Regions from separate parts of the Homo sapiens genome. Here region 2 is linked to region 1. The links are contacts of gene promoters, found by promoter capture Hi-C in blood cells and fetal thymus (Javierre and others, 2016). All regions are on one chromosome and are shown on one strand. Each heading gives the region's core, a stretch centred on a gene start or on the middle of the fragment in contact. The rest is flanking DNA. Distances are from core to core; before and after follow the strand shown.

What was found. The method cuts DNA at HindIII sites, captures the fragments that hold promoters and counts their contacts. A CHiCAGO score of 5 or more calls a contact.
Region 2: a contact is called between a fragment that was not itself captured here and the fragment with the promoter of EPHA1-AS1 in region 1, in 1 of 17 cell types (fetal thymus). The highest score is 5.1, in fetal thymus.

What each region holds. Positions count from the first base shown.
Region 1 is chr7:143,406,400-143,409,099 of GRCh38, reverse strand. EPHA1-AS1 (EPHA1 antisense RNA 1) reads right to left here and starts at 1,287. Exons shown (of 5, transcript NR_033897.1): 1 at 1,214-1,287. It overlaps EPHA1 (EPH receptor A1), which reads left to right and starts at 244. Exons shown (of 18, transcript NM_005232.5): 1 at 244-376; 2 at 1,422-1,489. The coding sequence starts at 295. RefSeq lists an enhancer at 1-172. The HindIII fragment of the contact is 7,900 bases long and covers 1-1,996 here.
Region 2 is chr7:142,812,832-142,815,531 of GRCh38, reverse strand. LOC105375541 (a long non-coding RNA gene) reads right to left here and starts at 1,335. Exons shown (of 2, transcript XR_001745392.2): 1 at 1-1,335. It also overlaps TRB and TRBV30. The HindIII fragment of the contact is 787 bases long and covers 959-1,745 here.

The DNA of each region.
Region 1 (2,700 bases), core at 38-2,537:
TTGAGTTTAGGATTAGAATTGGGAAAAGGTTCGTCAATTCTTAATCCCACCTACTAGGCGGCGCCCGCAGTCTCATTCGGGTCAAGACGCCTCCGGTTCTTGAATTTGATTACCAGTCTAGCAAGTTTCTTTCCTGCCCTACTGTCCCTTTAAGGAGGTGAACCAGGTGAGGCCGGGACTCCGCCCCCGGCGCTGGCCCCGCCCCCCGCCCCCGCCCGGCCCGCCCGGCTCTCCTAGTCCCTTGCAACCTGGCGCTGCCATCCGGGCCACTGTCCCAGGTCCCGGCCCGGAGCTATGGAGCGGCGCTGGCCCCTGGGGCTAGGGCTGGTGCTGCTGCTCTGCGCCCCGCTGCCCCCGGGGGCGCGCGCCAAGGAAGGTACCGACCCCCGCCCCCGCGCCCCCAACCCCCGCGCCCCGCCCCTTCCCGGGGCCCGGCCAGCACCCCCCTGCAGAAGCCGGCATTCCTAGGGGCCATGTTCCCCGAGACCCTCGCCAGCTCTCTCGCTGTGCCCGACCGCCAGGCTATCGACTGGCCAGGCCCATCTTTGGTCTTTAACCCCAAGCGGCTGCTCTCCCGGGTCAGTCACCCCCACTCCCGCAGGCCAGCAATCTGCTCCTGGGAGTGGGGAGGGAATTCCGGACCCTTGCCAGGAAGTAGCACCTGCACCCGCACCCCTGCCTGCATTCCCAGACAGTCCCAGCTTCAGGTGCCCACCCCAGAGATCTGAGCCCTTGGAAGTTGAAGGTGGGAAGTCGCCTCCTGCCAACCTAGGCCAGGGACAGAGGGAGCTGCCTCCGGGAGAAGGGTTAGGACTGACGCCACAGGGGTTCCCAGTTGTCCGAGTCGAATATTCCATGTGAAAGTTGGAACACCCTCTCCGGCCTTACTCCCCCCCACTTCCCAGGCAGGTAGCTGTGCCTCTTATCCCCACTTCACGGCTCTGATCACTGGCCAGGTCAGGCCAAAGCAGGCTTCGGACAGTGGAGGTGAGCCTCCCTACCCAGGAAACCCCTTCTGAGGTCCCCGGTCCACCCTGCCCACTCCTGGCTAGCAGAGGTGAGCTCCTCCTGCCCTCCACGCGTTCCAATCCTGCAGCTGATGGGTGTCCCAGGACGCAGCAGCCTGGGTAACTGAGCGTCTCGTGGGGCTGCTCTTCTTGCATTGACTTTGGTCAAAGACCCAGCGCCCCAACCCTTGTCCCACTCTACCTGCCTTCCTTCACACACACAAAGAAGAGTGAAATCCCTGGAGCTCTTCACTCCTCAGTCCTGAGCCCTTTTTCTCCCCTAAGCCTCAGGAAGTCACAGCTTTTAGGAACAGGATGTTGCAGCCTGGGGCTGAGGCCCCAGAATGATTAATGTGGGCTGCAGGGGCACCTCCTCCCCCAGAGGTGACAGACTTCTTTTCTCCCCACTTTCAGTTACTCTGATGGACACAAGCAAGGCACAGGGAGAGCTGGGCTGGCTGCTGGATCCCCCAAAAGATGGGGTAAGTGTCGGAAGAGGGAAGGATCTTGGAAAACTCCTGAAGGCCAGTGGGAAATGGGGTGGAGAGGTGGGTGGAGGAACAGAGAAAAGAGCAGGAAAAACTGGAAGTGTCTCCTCAGGGAGGGGGAGAGGAGGCTGAGTCAGAGCCTCCTCAATGGGACAAGGGGTGGGGGGGTCAGACTTCACCTCAAGATGAACGCTTGAATGGCCTGGCTCCTCCAGTGAATACTTGGGAATATTGTGAATACAAGCTGATACTTGTGAGGGGGAGAGGAGCTCACATACCCGGGGAGAGAATGCACCATGCTGGGGATGGTTGAAGGCTGAGACCAGTGCTTTGCTTGGGGAGGGATAGAAAAGGCAGAAAAGCATCCTCAATCTGAGATCCATTCATCCCAATGAAGTTGCATTGATAGGTTTCAGGGGGTGGGGAAACCCCATGAAAGTGTACTCTAAATTCTGTATATGTAAGCGGGCATTTTTTTTTCTGGAGAGACCAGCCAAAGCTTTCATCAAATTCTTCAAAGGGTCTTTGACTCCTCCGAAGTTAAAAGCTGCTCCCCTAAAGGTTTCTGAGCCCTTAGCTCATCCTCCACACCTCCTCAGGCTGACTGCGTGCACACCATGCATTCCAGCTGTTTGAAAGTGTCAGAGCTTGTTCCAGTTCCCTTCCTTCCTTGGATGTTCCTAAGACTCAGTGAACAGGTTGTGAGGTGGGTCTGAGAGAGCATATTCAGACTCAAATGCAGAGAGCAGCTCTTATGATGTACAAAAAACCAAACTCAGTTTTTTCCTACTGCACTCTCAACACAAATCACTTCGGTGACCTGTGGTCACCAAAATGCGTGTAGGGATTCCTCCCGCCTGCAGTCAGTTCTCTCTGGCAGATTCTTCAGTGGACAGTAGCTGAGTGTCCTCTAATCTTATTCAGTTCTTACACTATCTACCTGGAGATAGCCTCAGGTTGAGGGCTCAGCCCCACAAGACTGCCCTCCTCTAGACAACAATCACAAGTAACATGTTGTCACCTATACTTCTGTTCCATCGGCTGTAATCAGGTTTACCTGACCCTCCTCCTCGGGTTCAATTAGTTTGCTAGGATGGCTCACAGAACTCAGGGAAACATTGACTTGGATTTACTGGCTTACTATAACGGTTATTACAAATGGTACCATGAACACCAGATGGAATAGCTGCATGGGGCAAGGTATA
Region 2 (2,700 bases), core at 103-2,602, 590 kb after region 1:
GAGGGATCATATCCCCATCCTCTTTTCAATACATGAATGACTTAAATGATTGAATAACTAAACAGTATTGCAGATGGGGATGGAGATTGAGGAGATTTTTTTAAAGGCATCAGCCATATGGAAGGAGCTTCCAGCTACTGAGCTGTGACAATGATCAGGAGCCAGGAGCCAGCTGGTTACTCTGATCTGACTGATACATCTCTTCACCCTCCAATCTGCTGCAGCATCTCTAAGAAGGAGGATTACATTGCTGTCTACATGTGGTAATGACACTGAGCTGATGCAGCTGATGAGTGAAGTCAGGTCTCATAGGATACGCTGGTGTTAAAGACTGCCAGCCAGAGGAAAACGTGATGCGGTACCCTTGAGAACAAGAGCAATTCTCATTCTTTCTCCCTGTATCTCCCACCACCCACTGTCCACTTTCTCTCCACCCCATCCCCACTCAGGACTAAATAAAAATTTCAAAAGCAAAGAGGAAAGAGAACAGAAATGGAAAGAAAGGGAGGAATAGGCTATGTGTGCACATATTTATTTTGGCTTCACTCTCTGCAATCCTAACATGCACAGATATTATATTATCAGATTTATTAAAAACTGAGATTGAACAACTGTTCAATGAAAACTGCTCTTGCGTTGGCTATAGCTATTTTTCATCATATGTTCCAAATGTTCACTGCAAGCAAACTATATTTACCACTTGATTTATCATTTAAATAAATGTTATAAGAGGATTAATTCCATTTTGAAATGATAAAAAACAAAACATTCCCCTATACATATGGTGTATTCAAATGCAAACAAAAAAATGTGCTACAGCCAAAACTGTCAGAAGCAAGAACCCCAACATTAACTTGGAATTGTGTTACTGTAGCATCAGCAACAACAACAAACATATGACATCACTAGGCCCTGATGAAATGGGAAAGTGTTACAAATGCTTTATTTGCTTAAAGCTTATTCTCCCTGTTCAGCCACTTTTACGGCTTTCTTTCCTGGGTTTTCATCTCAAACCGCTCCACCACATCCAACCCAAACTAAGTAATTGTTCTGAATATGAATCCTTCAGAATACAGAGCATGGCAAAGACAGAGGGAAGAGGAGTTTCCAAGGGTGTGCTGGTGTCCTCCAGGCATCTGAAGGTCTTTTGTCCCATTTCAGCAGAATGACATTTTAGCAGCTACCTAGCAGAGTCCCATGCTTAGCTATTATGAATCCTTACTATTATGAATTCGTGGCTTGACTGTGTTTTTTGTGGCTCGTGATCCCTTCAGCCCCTACCTTCCACCCCATGCCATTGTAAATCTCCCAATCTTTGCTGCAGACATAGGGAGTCAAAAAAAAAAAAAAAAAAAAAAAAAAAAAAAAGCCAACATATGTAAGAGTGCCTGCCTGCAGTGCACCAGGCAAAATGCATCTTTCAACAATTTTTAGATATTGTCATCATTATTTTCACTTTATAGATAAGAAAATTGAGAATCAGGGTTTGCTTGAGAGTTCCCAAGCCAGCAAGAAGCAGAGCTGTGAAATGAACCCAAATCCATATGATTCCAAGTCTCTGTGATGTTTCCTATTACTCATATTGCATTTAGAGGATAAATTAGATCTAGTTGGCCCATTAGAGACACATGGAGCAGATTCCAACTTTGATCAGTTCAGGAGTTAATTATGCCTGTCCAGGTCTCAAAATCTGTCTGCCAGGGATGAAGATTATGCAGGCGATCCCTTTGGCTGTCATAGAAGCTTCCTGCCCTCAGAACTGAGCATTTCTGCTTTGATTACCCCAAAATACCTGAATCTCTTGAGCCCTATCCTTTCATCTCCCAGGTAACATGTCTAGCTCTAGTTTCCAATTTCAGATAAACTAAAATCTTTTTTCATCCTTCTATCAGTATCACAGTTTCTCTGAAGCTTTCCCAGGCTTCTGATGTCTCCCGGGGGAGCTGGAGAGTTACCTTTAGTTTACAGGTAAATAATGAGTCATTAAATATATTTACATACCAGGATGTCAGCAGGAATGCAAAGAAGATAACAAGTGCAGAGTATAGCTGGTTCCCAGGGAGGCTGGGGGTGATTCACCACACTCTTAAAAGAAGACTAGCCTCATTTCCTCCCCAGCTCATGGGGTAGGATTCCTCTGCTCTGGCAGCAGATCTCCCAGAGGGAGCAGCCTGACCACATCACTGGCCCAGAAGAGGAGGCGTCTGTCCCCCAGACTAGCTGAAGGAAAGGCTGGCTTGGATGATGCTCTGCTCTCTCCTTGCCCTTCTCCTGGGCACTTTCTTTGGTGGGTGCCCTCCTCTCTGGCAAGCCTCTTTTCTCATCCTCACCCTCACCCCAATCCCGTGAATGCAGAGTCTGAGCTGTTGGTTTGACACTCTTGAGTCTATTCCTGATTGTCTGGAACAGATATGGGAATTTAGCCTTAGGGGCTGATCTGATGATTCTTAGTTCTCTCTATCTCCTGAGAAGGAGTTCGTTCTGTTGGTCTTCCCTGGCCCAGGGATGCTTTGCATCCTTGGCTCCCCCAGTCTACTCCCCATGATGGATTCCAGGTGCCTGTGTCATGCAAGAGCTTGAGCTGCCCCTCTGTCTGGGGAAGGCAAGCCAGGCTGGGGTGCTCCTCTGTAAATGGCACTTTATCTTTCCCACAGGGGTCAGATCTCAGACTATTCATCAATGGCCAGCGACCCTGGTGCA